Linked DNA regions of Homo sapiens: region 1 is linked to region 2. Evidence: promoter capture Hi-C in 16 types of primary human blood cells and fetal thymus (Javierre and others, 2016). All regions are on one chromosome and are shown on one strand. Each heading gives the region's core, a stretch centred on a gene start or on the middle of the fragment in contact. The rest is flanking DNA. Distances are from core to core; before and after follow the strand shown.

The links. The method cuts DNA at HindIII sites, captures the fragments that hold promoters and counts their contacts. A CHiCAGO score of 5 or more calls a contact.
Region 1: the fragment with the promoter of OMA1 here is called in contact with a fragment that was not itself captured in region 2 in 1 of 17 cell types (total B cells); the score reaches 5.3 in total B cells.

The regions. Positions count from the first base shown.
Region 1 is chr1:58,545,409-58,548,108 of GRCh38, reverse strand. It overlaps OMA1 (OMA1 zinc metallopeptidase), which reads left to right and starts at 1,383. Exons shown (of 9, transcript NM_145243.5): 1 at 1,383-1,406. It also overlaps a transcript of DAB1 not described here. RefSeq lists enhancers at 945-1,134, 1,348-1,974 and silencers at 1,535-1,634, 1,645-1,734. The HindIII fragment of the contact is 5,811 bases long and covers 1-2,210 here.
Region 2 is chr1:61,077,077-61,079,822 of GRCh38, reverse strand. It overlaps a transcript of NFIA not described here. Among named protein-coding and RNA genes, the nearest start is that of NFIA, 4.1 kb to the left of the region's middle. The HindIII fragment of the contact is 445 bases long and covers 1,274-1,718 here.

The DNA of each region.
Region 1 (2,700 bases), core at 134-2,633, 2.5 Mb after region 2:
TCTTGAGTTATCATGGTGGGGAAAGCCAATGGGAAGCCTCTGAAGCTGTCCTTCTTTCCAAGTGAAGATAATAAATCAAAACCGATATTTCATCTGAGGGGATAGTGAGATGATGGTGGAGATTAATGTCATAATTAAAGACCTGAAATATACAAGAGTGGTTGGTCATCCCTGCCATATCTCTACTTAACTTGCCAGTCTGGCCCCTTTGGAAATCAGGTGGACCCAGGATAATGACATAATGGCTCTGCGCAGTCCAAAAGGAGCTGGATCAACTGGAAATTCCAGAGAACATCACACCCATCTATTTCACCAATGACATTATGCTAACCAGGCAAGATGAGCAAGAGGTGGCTAGCATGCTGGAAACTTTGGTAAGACATGTGCACTCCAGAGTTTGGGAGATAAACCCTACGAAGACTGAAGGACCTCCTACTTCAGTTTTTAGGGGTCCAGTTGTCAGGGGTTTTCCAGGATATCCCTTTCAAAGTAAAAGGCAAATCATAAAATACACATAAGATAAACGAAACAGTAACTTACACATTTTCCAAAAGAGATACCTAAAATTGTTCATAGTGTTTATGTCCTTTGACATAGTGTTTATGTCCTTTGAGATGTTTTCATTGTGCACAGAGTGTAAACATAATAAACTAATATGAGACCTCACTACTCATCCATCACAATCCAGTGTTTATTTGTACTGGCTTATTTGTACACTTTTATTTATTTGTGTTTATTTGTACACTTTTTTTTAATCGCCTGTCTTTCCTCACTGTGATATAAAGTTCACGAAATTCAGGTCTGTCTTGTTCACTGCTACATCCTTGGCACTTAAAATGTAGTTGATGCTCAAGAAATATGTTTTGGTGAAATGAATGAAACATACTATACACATAATTTTGGAGCCAGCTACTTTAACCTCCAGACACTTAAGATTATACTTCATCTTTCTTAAAATGCGTCCCTCCAAAAATCATATGAAAGCACTGTTCCCATACTCCAAAGACTATTTCTATGAATGCAGATTCAGAACCAGGAAGCCTTCGTCTTTTGGCAGTCTTCGAGTCTCTTCCCTTTTGGCCGGTACTGCCGTAGAGACTACAACGGACACAGCCTTGCGTGGATCATTCTTTAGAGGACCCAACTCACCAAAGACGGGAGAAAGTTGTTCCTAGGCAAGCAGCCCAGCCCAGGGCCATGTCCCGCCTTAAGCCACACGGAGGCGCTAGAGCGCCACAGTCTCCGCGGGGCCCGGGGCAGCTGGGAGAACGACTCTGGGCGGCTGTATTGACTGCCGGGTGTGGGCGGAGCGAAGGGCGCCCCGGCCGGTATGGCGGGCAGGAAGTGCGGGTGCGCGCCTGCGCATAGGTCGGGTCTGCGGTGTCACCGCTTTCGCTTCTGCTTGAGTCAGTCCTCACGGTGACGCTTTTCCCCAGCTTTTCCGAGTAGGATCGTGCCCAGGGGAGGAGGCAGAGTGCGGCAGTGGGGAGGGGGCGGAGCGCAGAGCGCCTGCGGGGGCGCCCGGGCAAGGAGTGGGGATCCTTGGGGATGGGGGTACGGGAGGAGGCGTGGGTGGGCGATAAGGCTGCGTGGAGGGGAGGGGCGGGGGGCGCCGGGGCGGGAGACGGAGGGGATCTGTCCTGGGGGAGCCCGGTTCTCCCCTAGCCTTGCCCGGGGCACGCCGGTGACCCCGTGTGTCTGCCCCGTGGCAGTACTTTCGTGGGCCGCCTGCCCTCCCCCTCAGCCCGCCCTTATCCGCGGCTCCGCTTTCAGAGCAGGGTTTCTCACCCGCGGGGCTTCGGGCTCCTCACCCGGCACCTCTGCCAGAGGGGACCGCCTCCCGGCGCGTCGGGCATTCGTCTCTTTCACCCCTTCCCTCTTCAGGAGAAACTGAACACGTTTTCCAGCCTAAACTCGGCAGGGCAAACCAGAACATTCCCCGTCTAAGCAGTTCCGGGGAGTTTTAACAATTTCCTCGTAAACTCGTCTACAGAACTCACTGTATACTGTTTAAATGTCGCCTGTGTGTGGAGCAACAGTTTTATTGTGCCGTGCAATCCTCAACAAGAAATTGTAGTCCAGGGAGATGAAAATCCCTTATTTGGCATTCAGGCGTTGATCAAGGTCGTGCAACCCTCGCTAAAAGGATTTAGGTTCATCTCCGTCATTCTCAGCCGGGGTGAAGGGGTGTAGTCTGACATTTGGAAGCTTAAGAACCAAGTCTGCTGCCGTCCAATTCTTTTTTAAAGCCTTCCATCATGTGTGTACTTTGCTTGAATGATTATTTTAAAGTACATGTCCTATTTTTGCCAATCTGACAGCTGTTTCCATAGAAACTAGAGAAGAAATAGTCATTTTCAGCAAGAGTTGTTAAAACTGTCTTCCAGGCTTCAGCTGTGAGTGCCAGTGAGTGCTGCACTTGCTCATTCGGAGATGGTACTTAAAGAATTAAGGATCTGAAATGTTCGTAGAGGCTAACAATCCAAATTGTTTAATTTTCTCACATCATTAATTTTGTTATCCTAGAAGTCTGCCAGCTATGTTTGTTGACCTGCCACAGCTCTTTGAAGAGAATATGTCAGCCCTGATTTTTTTTTTTCTTATGTGCTCTGTAGTCTAGTGATTGGCTCCTTGAAAATGCATGAATAGATTTCTTCCCTCATTCTTTACCCTTTCTTCAGGATAAACCGGGTATTACAA
Region 2 (2,746 bases), core at 247-2,746:
CCAACCCTCTCCCCTCTTCCCAAGTTGCAAAAGTAAATCCTTGTCCAGAGTTCACAAAGATACTAAGGCACTTGAGAGAGAGCAGGGATGGAGGAGGAGGGAAGAAAGAAAGGATAGTAGAGAGAGCAGTGGAGGAAACGCAGGTGAAGTATGGAAACTAGTTCACTGCAATCATATAAATGACCCATTGTTAGGAAGGATAAACCCCTTATTGGAAATAACCTCTCCAATCATTTATTTTCCAAGTGGTAGGAGGCTGCCTTGAAATGGGATTGTCTCTGCGCAAAGGAGGCTCCTGTCATGCTCTCTGCTATCCATATTCTTCCTGGCACAGAGCCCAGCCTTGCATTTACTGTGTTTTATTTGCAGAAACGTTACCTTGCCAGCTTTAGTGAAATCCTCTTAGATATATAAATTACGTCAATAAGGTTTCACTTATATGTACATCTCAAATAGCTCTCATTTTGGAGGTTACTTAATAGGGAGATCTTATTAATATGATTTAGATTTTAATACCCAAAGCAGTGAAGATAGGACTGGGATTCATAAGCGACAACACCATAACTCTGTAGTTCTTACCAAAACTAACTTTATTAACTGGCATTTTTCAACATTTTTTCTTCTCTGGTTTTTGACCTGCTGGTCACTTCTGTGCAGATTTTTCTTATGTGCATATAATCCTAAATTGAATCATGTTGCTGAAGTGAGTGTCCAAGTGAATTCTTACATCAAATTTCCAAGCCAGATTTGACTGGAAGGCCTAAAGCCTTGGGAAATAGCTCGATGGGAATTTAATCCAAAGAAGGGAAAGAGCCCATATTATTTTCCATTCACTTCCCAACAGAATTGGGTGTCTACGCTGCTCAGAGAGGAGGAGATGGAGATATTTTAGTCAGAGGCTGCCAGTTACTGTCTCCAAGACAAGCTACTGCAGTTGGTTTCCACTGGATTTGTATCAAGCACTTGTCCAAGAGGCCAGACTCCAACTAACAGTTAGCAAGTCAGCGATCTTCCATACACTCTCCACGGGGGTTGTTGTGGTAACAAGGAGAAACGTGAACTTGGCCAGTCTTAACGTCCTATTTCCTACTGACCATATACTTAAAAAGCAGAATTCAAGAATAGCCAAGAAAAAACACTCCCCTAATTTCTTTCAAGTGTGTAAGACAGCTGCTAGTCCACATGTGAAACATTCTCTCCTTTAAAACTGTTGTTTAGAGTTCAAGAAGAGAGGTTTACCTATTAATTTCAAAGTACTTGAAATGCCAAAGCTTCTAAGATAATCAGAGTAAGAAGTTTTGTAATGCTGAATACGCAATATATTACTTCCCAAAGCTCACTACAGTCCCACAATTCAGGCAAGATTTAAGCCACACGTTTCTTAAAGTTGAACTTCACATTCCACAAGTTACCAGCTTCCCTGAGCATAAAAATAATAGCTAATGCAAAGTTAATAACAATACAAAGTTATTTCTCTAGCAGAATGTTTCTTTTTCCAAAAGACAAGGAAGAAGGCACACGATTCATGCAAAACTCCCCCGATCAGCTTTTTTTTTTTTCTTAAACGCGAAAATTCTTTCCTATTGTGCTTGCTAAATCCGGAAGCGCTTGTAGCTTTGACAGCTTGAACCACACCATCCCCTTCAGAGCTGCAGAGAACTTCAGATCTCCTCTGCCCCGCCCCCTCTGGCTATTGAGAACTATTGTACACCCAAGCTTCCTTATGATTGGATAAAGCTTTTGTCAATCTCCCAAGTTGTCCCATTGATTAGAGGATCAAATCGTCAATTATTCTCCGGGTCCAGACATTTCTTTTCGGGTTAGGTTGACTGCTGAGGCCAGACGTCTTTTACAGAACAGAGCACGTACAGGATTTCCCCCCACCCCTTTCTGGAACCGAGCAAGCGCTAGGAGGAAAAAAAAATCTGTCAAGCTCAGCAATTTTTTCAAATCCCGAAAAAAAAAAAAAAGAAAAAGAAAACCCGGTCTCTGATGCACATAGCAAAAACACCATCAACAAAGCTACATCTTTAAAACAAAACCATCACAATAGACATTTACCCAGCAATCACTTAAGTGCATATGCGAGCTAGAGAAATTTTAGTCTTAGCCATTAAACAAAATCATTCTACCATTGTTTATAAAACGCATATCATATAAATGCAAAATAGAAAGTTTAAGATGTACCACGTACCATTGCAATGTAAAAAGAGTACGTGAGAAACTTTAAAATGCTCAGACGAATTGCTTCATTTGTTGTCCCCTTTTTTTTGCATTTAAAAAATATCTAAATAAACTTGGAACCGTTGAAAACCCGGAAGAGATTTTTTAAAAAGCTGTTGGCCAATTGCAGGCTTCTTGGAGAATTTTTTTTTTAACTCCAAATCAGAAGGCTTTTGCAATTGCAAGGCGCGCTCTCTCCCTCTCTCACTGTCTCGCTCTCGCTCGCTCGCTCGCTCGCTCTCACTCTCTCTTTTGAAAGCGATCCAACCCGGGCTGGCTGGTTCTCAGATTCGCTCTGGTTTTGCCTTGCGTGCTTTGGATTGTACGAGACTTTGCAGAAGTTGCAATCGATTCGGCAGTCCCTCTCTCCTCTCCCAACTCCCTTGTTTATTTCCGCAATCGCTGCAATTTGCATAGTAACCACGCACGAGGTACCGGCGGCAGCCTGCGGCGGAGGGGGCAGGGAGGGGGCAGGGAAAAGGCCTTGCCCCCTTCTCCCCTCCTCCAGTCTGTCTCCCCGCCA